Linked DNA regions of Homo sapiens: regions 2 and 3 are each linked to region 1. Evidence: promoter capture Hi-C in 16 types of primary human blood cells and fetal thymus (Javierre and others, 2016). All regions are on one chromosome and are shown on one strand. The core of a region is centred on a gene start or on the middle of the fragment in contact, and the rest is flanking DNA. Distances in the headings are between cores, read along the strand shown. Region 1 holds the start of TMTC4 (transmembrane O-mannosyltransferase targeting cadherins 4). Region 2 holds the start of BIVM (basic, immunoglobulin-like variable motif containing). Region 3 overlaps IPO5 (importin 5).

What was found. Contacts are between HindIII fragments. The CHiCAGO score rates a contact against its expected background, and 5 or more counts as called.
Region 2: the fragment with the promoter of BIVM here is called in contact with the fragment with the promoter of TMTC4 in region 1 in 1 of 17 cell types (non-activated CD4 T cells); the score reaches 5.6 in non-activated CD4 T cells.
Region 3: a contact is called between a fragment that was not itself captured here and the fragment with the promoter of TMTC4 in region 1, in 2 of 17 cell types (monocytes and naive B cells). The highest score is 6.6, in monocytes.

What each region holds. Positions count from the first base shown.
Region 1 is chr13:100,671,803-100,676,090 of GRCh38, forward strand. It overlaps TMTC4 (transmembrane O-mannosyltransferase targeting cadherins 4), which reads right to left and starts at 2,993. Exons shown (of 19, transcript NM_032813.5): 1 at 2,942-2,993. RefSeq lists enhancers at 1,369-2,258, 3,584-3,663 and silencers at 2,374-2,453, 2,504-2,863, 2,894-3,393. The HindIII fragment of the contact is 7,703 bases long and covers 1-4,288 here.
Region 2 is chr13:102,796,713-102,801,016 of GRCh38, forward strand. BIVM (basic, immunoglobulin-like variable motif containing) reads left to right here and starts at 2,407. Exons shown (of 11, transcript NM_017693.4): 1 at 2,407-2,809. POGLUT2 (protein O-glucosyltransferase 2) reads right to left here and starts at 2,264. Exons shown (of 10, transcript NM_024089.3): 1 at 1,777-2,264; 2 at 92-297. The coding sequence starts at 1,958. RefSeq lists an enhancer at 2,414-2,633 and silencers at 2,694-2,963, 3,524-3,573, 3,604-4,033. The HindIII fragment of the contact is 9,485 bases long and covers 1-4,304 here.
Region 3 is chr13:97,973,554-97,977,901 of GRCh38, forward strand. IPO5 (importin 5) reads left to right here. Exons shown (of 29, transcript NM_002271.6): 4 at 3,140-3,233. The coding sequence starts at 3,144. Among named protein-coding and RNA genes, the nearest start is that of IPO5, 22 kb to the left of the region's middle. RefSeq lists silencers at 2,385-3,114, 3,295-3,644. The HindIII fragment of the contact is 7,323 bases long and covers 1-4,348 here.

The DNA.
Region 1 (4,288 bases), core at 1,743-4,242:
TCTTTTCTTTGAAGGGATTTACTGTTAACGTACATAGTGGAACAGTTTGGAAAATGCCTTTCACTAGCAAACGCAAAAAAAAAAAAAAAAAAGCTACAATTTGTTAGAAAGCCAGGCAAAGTGATCAGTCTAGTCCAGTGGTTGAGACCAAAGGCTCTGGTGACGGACAAACCTGGACTTGCCGGCTGCACGACCTTGAACTGCTTAGTCTTTCTAAGAATCAATTTCCTCACTGGCACAACACAGTACCACCACCACTTTCTTCAGAAGGTGGTGGTAAGGATTAAAGGAGAAAATGTATGCAAACAACTAGTTCTCATTATTGTTAGATTTTGGAGAAATTAGCCGCTGCTTCCCAGTCCCTGACTGCCTGTCTCGGGCGCACCCATGTTGCCAGTGTTTATTCCTGCAGATGGGCTGAGCACTAGGGCCAGCAGTAGCCCATCGGGTGACCTGGTGCGACTGAGAAAGGCGGGCCCTTCTTTTGGGCAGACCCGGGGCACATGGCTTCCTTGGTCAGGTGTCTGGCACAAACTGTACAACCATGCACAGTGACCTTGTTCCCAACTCTCCTTCCTCCAACACTAAACGACTTCTGTTCCTCAATGACCTGAGCCAGGCCTGGCACTCAGTTAAAAGAAGCCCTGTCTGAGCAAGGTGGCAGAGACGGGGGACCACCCTCTCTACATCCCTTCCCCCCTTTTTTTGAACAGGGTTTCACTCTGCCACCCAGGCTGGAGTATAGTGGTATGATCATAGCTCACCACAGCTTCACCTTACTGGGCTCAAGGGACCCTTCCACCTCAGCCTCCCAAGTAGCTGGGACTATAGGCATATGCCACCATGCCTGGCTATTTTAAATATTTTTTTGTAGAGACAGGGTCTCACTATGTTGCCCAGGCTGGAATCAAACTCCTGGCTTCAAGCGATCCTCCTGCCTCAGCCTTCCAAAGCATGGGGATTACAGGTGTGAACCACCGTGCCCGGCCTCCACCATTTTTTACAGTCAGGACATGAAATAGGAAAGGATGCTCTGTTTTCTTCCAGATGGGCCCTAGGTTGAACTTTCTGGTCCCTCTTCTCCACATGATGTCCTGCCTGGGCTCCCTGGCTCCTCTGCCATAGCTGGATCGTTAGTTCACCTTATGAAGCAACAAAAAGAGAGACCCACTGTGGCCTCTGCTACAGGCCAAGCAGAGGGCACAACCCAGGAGGAATGAAGTCAGTGTTCTGCTCGCTACCTGACTCCTGCGACAGAATCAACTGGCCCCTCAACAGGGGCTGAATCTGGAACAAAGCAGACGTCCCTTTATCCTACAATTTCTCAAACTTCTCATATCGAGCCTCTGTTTTCAGGAGGTTAAAACAAATTAATCATCAGTGAGAAGGCCAAAAAGACCCCACACAGGGACCCCAGAAAAACAAATGTCATCCAGCTGTGAACCATGAGGGCCCAATGACAGCTGACACGGCAGCCTGGACTGCGGTAAACAGAATGGCGAGACCAAACCTAAATGTTTCCCCTTGGAAAAATTAGCAGCAGCCACCTACAGAAGAATATTCCCCTCCATGCATCCAGGGGCCTGCTGACCTCTGCCCAGCCTTTCTACCTCATCTGTAACATTCAATCACATAGCCAGCCATCCTATGCACGCTGAGAGGTGACAGCGCCTCTGGGAATCAGATTAGAGAACACAATCGTTTGTGACCCTGCATCCCTGGGCCTGGCAGTTTCCTGACTGATCAGACCCTGGGCCCCTCAAGGCAGGGGCGCGAGCCACCACCACCGCCCTCCTCCGTGCAGTGCTGAATACATGCTACTGAAGGCTAAGGTATCGTCCTGCTGTGACGGCCTTCCCATTTTATAATTCAGTAGCGCACGAGGGCCATGGCTGCCTATAGCAAGAATGTGTGTGGTTTGATATTCACAGTTCCACTGTCCCAGAAAGTTTCCAGTTTGCTAGCTTGTAGCCATTTCCCCTATCTAGGTGCACTGGCCGTGATTTTACCCCACTCCATCTGGGGCGCGCCCGGCGCAGACAGGACTGCAGAGAAAAGGGACAGGGAGGGGACCTAGTCAGTCCCTACTATAACTGTTTCTCAAGACATTCTCCCCATGCATTTATTTGCTCTCCCGGGGAAAGAGCGAAGTGTGGGATGACTCATAGTGGCTAGATCGTTCCTCTAACTCCTCCCTTCTTTTGTGTGTGGTTTAAAAAAAAGAAAAACACACACGCAGCCCATAGCCACAACATCAACAAGACCAGAAGCCCCGCAGAGTTCGCAGGAGGTGGGCAGTGGCTGCGCCACCTGCTCGGCTTCCCCAAACTCCGAGCCCACGCCGGGAAGCGGCGGCTCGGTGGCCCCGGGCGCCCGGGCCGGTGGCCCCGCGCTCGCGCCGCTCCGCTCCGCAGCCGAGCGTGGAGTAGCAGGCGCTCGCGGCGCGGCGGGGGAGCCGCCGCGGAACCCAGGGCAGGCGGCCAAGCGGCCCGGCTGTGTCCAGCCATCGCCTGCGCCGCGGCCAGCTGGCGGCCAGGCGCGGGGCCCCGCGGCCAGATGGCCGCTCCGGGGACGCGCCGCAGGCGCCGGGTGCGCCCGGGCCGAGGGAGCGCCGGCGCGGCTGTGCAGGCAGGGGCTGGGGGCGGCGACCTCTGCCCGGGCGGAGAAGCTCAGGGGCCCGAGCGCGGCGGGCGGGGCGCGCAGCCTCCACGCCGCGCCCTTTGTCCCATGTGCGGCTCACACAGGGGCCCGCGTCCCCCGTGACCCCGGCCCGGGCCGCAGCTCAGGTCCCGGAACCAACTCCTCCAGCAGCGCCGCTCTGGCCCGGGCCGCCGTGCGGGGCTCGGGACACGGCGGCAGCGGGGAACCCGCGCCCGCTCCGCGTCCAACTCCGCTCGCCCCGCGGCGCGCTCGGCCCTGCAGGGGCCGCCCCGCGCGTTACCTGCAAGGAGCCTGAGCCCCGGCCGCATCTCCCTCCCGGGTGCGGAAACTCTGGCGGCTCCAGGCACCCGCCCGGACCTGGCAGGGGGAGGGGCCGCCCGCCGCGCACCCGACCCCCCCCGCGCCGCGCCTCCCGCAGCTCCCCACGCGCGCGGGCGCCCCCCAGCACCAGTCTCGGCCCGCCCCCTCCGCCCGACCATTGGCTGCTGCTCCCGTCACTTTCAGGCCACAGCCAAGTCCCTCCTCAGCTCATTGGCGGACGCGCCGGTGACGTCAGGCCAGGGGGCGCTAGTCGGCGGCGAAGGAGGCGCAGGGACAGACGGACCCGGCGGGAGAGGAGGAAGCCGGGTTGTGGGCGCGGAGCTGAGGCGGAGGCGGGGCCGGGGCGGGAAGGGGCGGCCCCAGCTGGGTCGGGCGAGGCTGGCTGCGGGAAACCGAGTGAGCCCTCGCTTTTCCTCCGGGGTCCGCGCGCGGGACCCTATTTCTGGCCTGTCTCGCGCTTCGCCTGCGCGGTGGTCTCCACGCTGGGACTGCGGCGTCCTCGCAGAACAGCCAGAACTCCACTTCTTCCTGTCCGGGAGGAGTTGTTTAAAACATGCGTATCTCCACCTTCTGCTTCTTAGAACAGAACTGACTGAAGCCGTGTTCTTCCCGCCGAGACCATGCCGCCCCATCGACCCTGCTGCGGCCAGAGCCACCCAGGGCGGGCCCACTCACCGCAGGCTCGGGCCACTTGGTTCCAAACCTCCACTCCCATCCAGGGGCCCGGCACACCCACCACACTCCCACTCTCAGAGGTCTTTGCCGCCTGCTTCAGGAGAAAAGAGAAACTTCCACTTTCCACCGGCAAAACTGCACACCTGCTCCCTCCATCACCGAGCCCCCCCCCCCACCTTCTGTTTTTCCAGTATCGCAGAATCCGATCCGTTGCTCCCTCTGGACTGGAATCCGTATCCTCGGCATTTCATCATTCCAAGATTCTCTACTCCACGTACCCTTGCTGCCACCCTCTTCTACTTTCCATCGCTGAAGTTGGTGAAAGAGGCGCCTGCCCCCAGTTTTGTGGTCTCTCAACTCCACGTGTTCGTTTTCACACTCGGTGAAATTGCCTTTTTAATTGTCGCAAGTAGCATCCACATCACTAAAGTCAAAGGACACTCTCCTTTCTCGTGTTAACTGATCTGAGCAAAATTCCTTCTTTCTCCTTAAAACACGTCTTCCTGTGGCGGGGGTGCTCCACTTTCCTGTCTGTCCCCAGTCTTGGCGTGCTTGTCTACTCTGGGTGACCACCAAATAACAGAGTTTTCAAGGTCTCAGACCTTTCCTCTTACTCCACAATTTTTCCCTG
Region 2 (4,304 bases), core at 1,157-3,656, 2.1 Mb after region 1:
TATATATATCATGCCAAGTTGTTTTTGTTGATGGAATAACATATATTATTTTATTCAAATACTGCTGTTATAAAATTATATTCCAAATTACCTTTTAAAATATATGGGGATTTGGCCACATGTTGCCCTTGGAATTTAATTTCCACCTTCAGATTTTTGTAGCTTGCATACATTCTGTATCTTACTATGAAGGACCCATCTTTTCGGTCTAAAACCTGGACTCCAACTCTAGTGAATTGCTCCTCTGGTGCTGAGACTTTCACCTGGAAGACCTTTTCGCCTGGAGAAGATGTGAATCTGTGATGAAAAGGCAATGGGGGAGATAAACAGATTTTAACGAACAAACACACAAAGGTTATGCTCTTCAGTCTGGAAACTTGATTATTCTCCTCCACATTCTTCCTCTAACATATGATTGCTTCTTCTTCTCTTATGCTTTTAGTACCAGAATGAATATGATGGATCAGAGATTTAAAAAAATGAGGATGACAATGGCCAAGATAACATGAAACAGTTTCATTAAACAGTCACAATGGAGTATGTTAAGACTATTAATCTATATAAGCACAGAACATACTCATGCATTCCATATGGAAAAATATTCTTACTAACTTATTTCATGCTATCACATCTGGATATTTGTGATCAAATGATGCTCCCAAAGATAATGATCTTATTTTGAAAAATCTCTGCCAATGAATCTTTACAATATCAGTATTATAAATCACGCTCAGGCCTGGCACTGTGGCCCATGCCTACTATCTCAACATCTTGGGAGGCCAAGGAGGGAAGACTGCTTGAGGCCAGGAGTTCGAGATCAGCCTGGGCAACAAGGTGAGATCCTGTCTCTACAAATAATAATAATAATAATAAAAAACAAATAGCCAGGCGAGGTGGCACACGCCTGTAGTCCCAACTACTAGGGAGGCTGAGGTGGGAGGATAGCTTCAGCCTGGGAGGTTGAGGGTACAGTGAGCTGTGATTGCACCACTGCACTCCAGACTAGGCTAGGAAGTGAAACCCTGTCTTAAAAAAAAAAAACTCACGCTCAGCCATGGGCAAAAGCAAAGTAGTAGGTAGTGTATCATCTTTTGCCAAATAACAAAATTTACAACCTGCCTTTTACTTGACAACCTTTTATTCCAGTATTTTTTTCTGTATGAAATACACACAGTCAGCATCCACCAATAATAGAGACAATCATTTCAGAAGTATAGGAATTATAAAAATAAGTTTTAAGTATGATGTTAAAGTATTAAATTCATTGGAACAAAATATTTGTTACAATCATATAGGAGATTAATACTTCGATACTTTCCTTCCGAACTCTGAAGTTTCAAATAGTACTTCATTTTTCTTTTTCAGTTTCAAAACATGCTTACCTGCAGATGTCTCCTTGAAAATTGAGGGCCGCACCAGAGAAAGATGAAGCCCATCAAGTCTCTAACAACTAGGTTTAAATCCCTTATAATAGCTTATGCGAAAAGTAGTTAGAAACAGTATTTCCAGCAAAGTGGAGGGACTTTGTCTTGCCCTGATAATGTGGGAATCTGAATCAAAATTGCTAGGAGATTATTTTATATGTTATATACAATACATTATATTGCATATATTATAATTCGGAACAATTTCTACAGCTACAGAGAAAAATGGGTAACCAAATATCCTGGAATATAAACTGCTGTGGAGAAACGAGTTCTTGGAAAGAAAAATCTTAAAGGGAGAAACAGATTTAACCGCCATCCAAAATAGGTAAGGAGCCGTTTCTCGACTTACTTATTCCCTGATGTATCCACTGCCTGAATATAGAAATAGCGGGCGGGAAGGACGACGTCTGCTTTTAGCCCGGGTCCCCATATTTCGCTCTTCTCCGGGCTCAGCTGCCTTTCTCCGCCGGTCTCGGCGAGTGCTGGAACTGTCGCCAGAAAGAAGCAATAAAGTAGCAAAGTGCCAAACATTTACAAGACGGACTCTCGAAATGATCCACCGATAAATGAAGAAGTGTAAGAGGTGGACAGAAGCAGCCGAGCCTTCGGCAGGGACCCGCCGGCCGATCGCAGCAGCCAACGCGACTGCAAAGGTTGCCGCCCGGCGTGCAGGGCAGGCGCGCGGGTCTCCGCGACCCCAGGACAATCAAAGCCCGTGCCCCGGCGCGCCCAGGTGAGGGTCCCCTGGCGTTCTGCTGTCCCGGCCGAGAACCGCGCTGCTCCTCTCTCTCAGGACAATGATGAACTTGAGTTGCTCCTGCCACTGGAGCATCATTTGGGAGCGAATCCGTCTCAGGTTCCAGCCAAGGTGTAGGGCGAGGGGATTGGCCCGTGCGTCGGGCCAGGCTCAGTAACGCCTTCTCCAAGTGGATGGCGGGGTGGACACGCGTCCCGGCGCCCCGGGCTCCCTGGGATATGTAGTTCGCGACAGGACGAGCGGAAATACTGCCAGGATTTTACCACCTCTCGCCCATTTATTTACTTCTCGGTCACCGCTTTCGGGGGACAGATAAACACCACAGATGCCCATCAAAGGGGCGCACGGGTCTGGAGGCGCAGCTCAGGTTTTTGCGTTGGTCACCCTGCCCTCCGCACGTGGAGAGGGCAGGCATAAAGCACCTTGAAAGGAAGGTGCTGTCAATGCTATCCGACGACCTGTCGCCGGGCACCGCAGCATCCTCGCTCGCTCCGATGGGACGAGGGACGCCGGCCCCAGGGTAACAGGAGGCGCCTCGCCGGCCGCGCGCTGGATGCTGTGATCCAGGTCCGGAGCCGGGTTCCGCCGCGGCCGCAGCGACCCGACCCCACCCGACAGGCCAGAGGTACCCCGGGGCGGGGGGCAGGGGCCGAGGTGGCGGCCGGCTGTGCGCTCTGAGCGCCTGGCCCTCCGCTGGGCACCTGGGCGCCGCCAGCCCGGCCTGCTGCCGCTCTACGCGCAGCCACCTGGGCATTCAAAATTTTTACTTAATTCGATACCGGCCTGGGCTGCCAGGGGTCATCGCCTCTCCGAGCCCCGTGGCGTCCAGATGGAGGCCACTGCATGGGTGCGCGCTCTCCCGGGAAGGAGTAGGGGGAAGAGCTGTGTCGCGGGGGGAAGAGAAGCGCCAGGGAAAGAAGGGCCTAGCCCTCTGGTGAACAAAGCTCGATTAGGAGGTGTCCATGTGGATACCGGTGACCCCTGTGCGGCCGTCGGTCTCCACGCCACGCTGGGCAGGGTCCGGGAACCAGCGCGCAGCGGCCGTCGCCTTCCCCTGCACGCCAGCACCCGGGTCTGGGCCGCCGCCAGGAGTCACGGGCTCACCGCCCTGGTCAGCTTGGCAGTCGGACCCGGAGCCGCCTCCTCTGCCTGCCTCCCTCTTGCCAGCTGCCCCGAAAACCCAGAAGAGCCGGTGGCTCCGAGCCAAGGCGGGCCTGGTTCGGCGCCAGGAAAGGGGGTTTCTTTCCTATTTTCTTTTGTGCAATTGTCATTATTAATGATACCGACTCGTTTACTCAAACAGTCGAATCGGAGCCCCAGCTCTTAGCCCGGATGCAGCAATTGCCCGTGGGCCCCCTTTAACACCAACAGCGTCCCCGGGGCCCGGGGCAAGCATGTTCGAGGCGGTCACCCCCGGGCCTCGGCGCGCTCCCCCTGGCGGAGAGCCTCGTCTTCCGGCCGGTGAGGGAAGGTAGAGGAGGGAGTAGGGGCGAGGAGGCCTCGGCGGCCCTTGGGCTCTGCGGGCTGGGGACTCGGGGTGCCCGCGACACGCGCGGAGGCGCGGGCTGGGTTGGCCACGGGCAGGGAGCGCAGCCGCGCTCCTTCCTCTCTGCCCGCGTCGCCTCCGCGCGCACTGGTTCTGCGCGGCGGGGCTTGGCCTGCGCGACTGTCTACTCCGTCCCGGCGGCCTCGGAGCCCGGCCGAGCGGCGAGCTTGTCAGAGGACGGTGGTGGAAACGCTCCCGGCCTCCCCAGGGGCGCGGGCTGGAGGCTGGCGCCAGGCGCGGAGGACTCCCGGTATCTTTTGACAGGCTGGCGCCTCGGCTCTGGGGACCCGCAGGTCTGAAGGGGAGGAAGGGGCCTGGAGGGCGCGGGAGGACACCGGGTGGGAAGGGTGGCATTAGCTCGGCCGGGGGCTATGCGCCTCTGGTTTCGCCCTCCCGCGCATATTCGACCCTTACGAGGTCACCGGAATGCCCCTGCTCCTCAGTTGCCTTCTATACAGGATATCGATCAGGGTATTTTGTTATACGAAAAGGCTTTACTGAAGAGGTTTTTAGAGATGTTTGGTTCTCTCATAAACTTGATACTTGAGAATACAGACAAAATATAACCTGAAAA
Region 3 (4,348 bases), core at 1,138-3,637, 2.7 Mb before region 1:
CCCCAAGTTTACTGGAATTTCTCCCATTTTGGGTGGCGGGGTGGTCTCTTCATTCATTAACCTTAAAATTCTTCTCCTTCCCTTTTGATTGGATATTTAAAATGTTAAAATAAGGCTGGGCTGTGATTTCGTGTTCTAGCAGTTGATGTCACCACTAATACAAAATTGTTTTGTTTTTAGCCTGCCTGAAATAATCTTAGGTTTACGCTTTGCCTCGTTAAAAAACAAGCTCCTAGCCGGGTGTGGTGGCGGAGGCCTGTAATCCTAGCACTTTGGGAGGCCAAAGTGGGAGGATCGCCCGAACTCAGGAGTTTGAGACCAGCCTGGGTAACAGGAAGACCCCATCTCTACCAAAACTGGAAACATTAGCCAGGTGTGGTGGCTTGTGCCTGCAGACCAGCTAGTTGGAAGGGCTGAGGTGGGAGGATCGCTGGAGCCCAAGAAGTGGCGGCTGCAGTGAGATCACACCACTGCTCTCCACCCTGGGCAACAGAGTGAGACTCTGTCTCAAAATAATAATAATAACAATAATAATAATAGTAACAAATATCTGCAAACTTGATTGGAATTTCTATTATTTAGTAACTATTAAGCAAATATATGTAACCTACAGACTCATTGCCAATAGAAACACATATCGCAACAGGTGTTAAAAAGTAACTGGAGATCGGGCCATGCCCTAAGCAGCCTCTAAGCAATTTATCATATTTCACTGTTAACCTAGTCATTTGAATGAGTTGTTTTTGTCTGAAATTCTTTTTTTTTTTTTTTGAGACGGAGTCTTGCTCTATCACCCAGGCTGGAGTGCAATGGCACGATCTCGGCTCACTGTAACCTCCACCTCCCAGGTTCAAGTGATTCTCCTGCCTCAGCCTCCCGAGTAGCTGGGATTACAGGCGCCCACCACCACCACACCTGGCTAATTTTTGTATTTTTAGTAAAGACGGGCTTTCACCATGTTGGCCAGGCTCGTCTCGAACTCCTGACCTCAGGTGATCCGCCCACCTCGGCCCCCCAAAGTGCTGGGATTACAGGCGTGAGCCACCTTGCCCGGCCTGTAATTCTTAAAACCTTAATAACCTTGGCTGATGATGAAACCTCCTCAGAATCCAGATACCCCAACGACCCACAAAAAAAAAAAAAAATCAAAATCAAACAAAAAAAAGCTGCCCCAAAGTAATGTGCATAGTGGTTTGTCTAGAAGAAATAACGTGGCATAAGAATGAAAACTTGTCACATCTAAGAAATATAAATTCAACAAAGATAGGTCTGCAGACCTCCTGTAGAGAACCCATCATTGTCATGGCCCAAAACTTTCTAAGAGAATTTTCTCTAGGAACCAATTAGAATCCTTTAGAAAAAAATCTTGGCTGGCCATCCCAATTGCACGTGGATCCCAGGGCTCAGCCCAGATTCTAAACACAGTGGCCAAGATTTAAAATCATTCACCAAAGAGCAAATGTTTTGACTTTCAAAGAGCAGAACTGCAGCAGAATAGCCAACAGGAAATTAAATTCCCTAAGTTAAATACTATGTACTGCCAGCGGTGTAGAACTACTCTTCCATCTCACCCAGTATGAAACCTCCTCACTAGAGATGTAGTGTCCCTTTGGGGCAGAAATGAATTGTTTTTGTAGCTGGGCGCAGTGGCTCATGCCTGTAATCCTAGCACTTTGGGAGGCCGAGGCGGGGGGAGGGCGGGGGGGGCTGGTATCGCCTGAGGTCAGGAGTTCGAGACCAACTGGGCCAACTTGGTGAAACCCCGTTTCTACTAAAAATACAAAAAAGTTAGCTGGGCATGGTGGAACATGCCTGTAATCCCAGGTATTTGGGAGGCTGAGGCATGAGAATTGTTTGAACCCGGGAGGCAGAGGTTGCACTAAACCGAGATCGCGCCACTGCACTCCAGCCTAGGCGACAGAGCAAGGCTTCCACTGACACCCTTAGCCCAATGTATTGGATACAACAGGGTCTCAACAAAAGTACCCTCTGATTTGTACACTGCTCTCTGCCTTTGGCAGCCCCAGGAGTTAAAGAACATCGCGTGTATTATCTGCGCATTAGAATGCTGAAATTGAAATTACGCCTCTAGGTTCCTAGACTGAGATTGAGATAATCAGCCCTGTAAACCAGGGCTCCTTTAGGAAGAAAGGTGTCTCTCTTGACGTTCCCCAATCATTGCGAGAACAGAATCCCTAAACAAGGGATTCAAGGGAACAGTCACAGATCCTGGGGTGGGGGCATGTTTGCTACGTGTACATCCGAAGACGACCGCGGGCTGGGGACGGGCGGCCTGGCGGGACAGCCCCGGGCTGAGTAACCCCTCTTCCGGGCAAGCCCCAGGCGTGAGTCACTGGAGAGCGCGACGGGAGGAAGGGGCGCCCTGAGTCCACAGCCCTGGGGGAGGTCGGAGGGTCTGAAAGCGAGAAGTCCGTGAGTAGAAGGTACGTAGGAAGTGGGTCTAAAGGGACTGCCTTCCTGGGGGTGGGTGAAGGGCTGGATCCCAGGGAGCGAGGGACCAAAGGGGTGGGGCCTGCTCCAGCGGCCACGGGGAGGGGCCGGGGGTCGCTAGAAGGAGGCCGACCAGCCCGCGGCGCCGAAATCTCCCGCGCTCAGCAGCTGGCCCCTCCTCCCCGGCCAGGCCTCAGGCCCCTTGCCGCGGCCGGGCCCGCCGGCCGGCTCCTCCCGCTGTCCCCGCGACGCAGCCCTGGCCCCAGCCCAGGCCTCGACCTCGACCTCAACCCCGACCCCGACCCCGATCCCAGCCCTGGCCCGGCTGCGAAGCCGCCAGCCTACCCAACCGGCGTACAGCCGGCGGCCCCCGATGCGCGGCCACTGACGGCACCGCAGGGTGCGTGGCCAATCAGCGCGGCCCCCGAGGAGGCGTCCTCGGCCCCGCCCCCCTGCGCCCAAGGCCAGTGAGGCGCCGGCGCCGGCGGCCGCGGCGGGGTGAGAGGCCGCGAGGCCCCGCCCCGTCCTCCCCTTTCCCCTTTGCCCCGCCCTTCCCGCGCGGCCCCCCGCAAGCCCCGCGCCGCCGCTGGTGCCGGTCCCCGCGCTGGGCCCGCCCCCGCCCCTCCCGCGGCCCGCGAGCGCGCCTCACGGCTCCTGTCTCCCCTCCCTCCTTCTCTCTCACGCCTAGCGCAATGGCGGCGGCCGCGGCGGAGCAGCAACAGTTCTACCTGCTCCTGGGAAACCTGCTCAGCCCCGACAATGTGGTCCGGAAACAGGCAGAGGTAACCGAGTTCGCCGCCCCAGTCTTCGCGCCCTGGCCGGCGCGCCGACCCTTTACCGACGCCAGCCGCACCGGGCCTCGGCCGGTCCGCGGCGGCCGCGCAGGCTGGGCCCGGCGGGCGGCGGCCGCGCAGCCCACGTGTGAGGCGGCCCGCGGCTCCCGGTCGTGCCCCCGGGCTTTTCCGGCCATTGCTGCCGCGGCGCCTGGCACCAGTTACCTCCCCGCCGCCGCTCGCACCCACGTGCGGCCGCTCCCGACGCGCCCCCGTCCAGGTGTGGGGTGCCGGGCGGGCCCGGGGCCCCAACTTCGCTGGCCACCCCGCTTCCCAGCTCCCCGCTTGCCCCTTTCCCGCTTTCTCCCAGTGGGAGCCCCCACTGCCCTTCCAGCCGCTGTCTCCACCCAGCCTAGCGCTGTGGGTCTCCCAAACCCTGGCTGCTACCTGACCCGTCACGCCTGCTTCTACCCCTGCTCATCTCCCACACCGTCTGTCCCTCTCTTTTTAAATATGTGCCCTGCCTTGTCCCTACTGCCTTTTTCCATTTAGTTCTTTCTCATTCTAGTTCCTAACATCAGAAGCCAGATTTCCCTACCCCCTCCCACCTCCAGTTTTGTGAAGTTGCCTTTAGGGTTTCTTTCTATGCAGTTTCCACCTTACTCTGGGCTTATAATACACTTACTCTGCTCTTCAGACAAATTTTCTTTGCTCTCTAGAGAATCGTGGGATAAATGGGATGTAGTGGGACTTCCGTTGTTTAACTGGGCCAGTACCATATGTTTAAGTCTTCAACTTCATTAAATCTAACCGTAATCTCTTTTTTTCAAACCACCTCTTGTTCCTGGCCTCCAAAATGTGGAGAGACTTTCAAGTGACAGTATTTTAAATATATCTGTAAGCTCATTTACCAAGTTCACTAGAAGACTGATGTTACATTTTCAGCGTTGAGACCACGATTCTTGTGGGATACTTCCAGGGGAGGGAGAAACTTTCCAGTTTCTTAGCTGACCGCCAAACTTGGTTATATATGGGGTTTTTGCAACCATGCGATTGTAGAGTTTCATAAGATTAAGTGAAGGATGTTCAGCCAGATATTTTTAAATAACAAAAATTAATTTTAC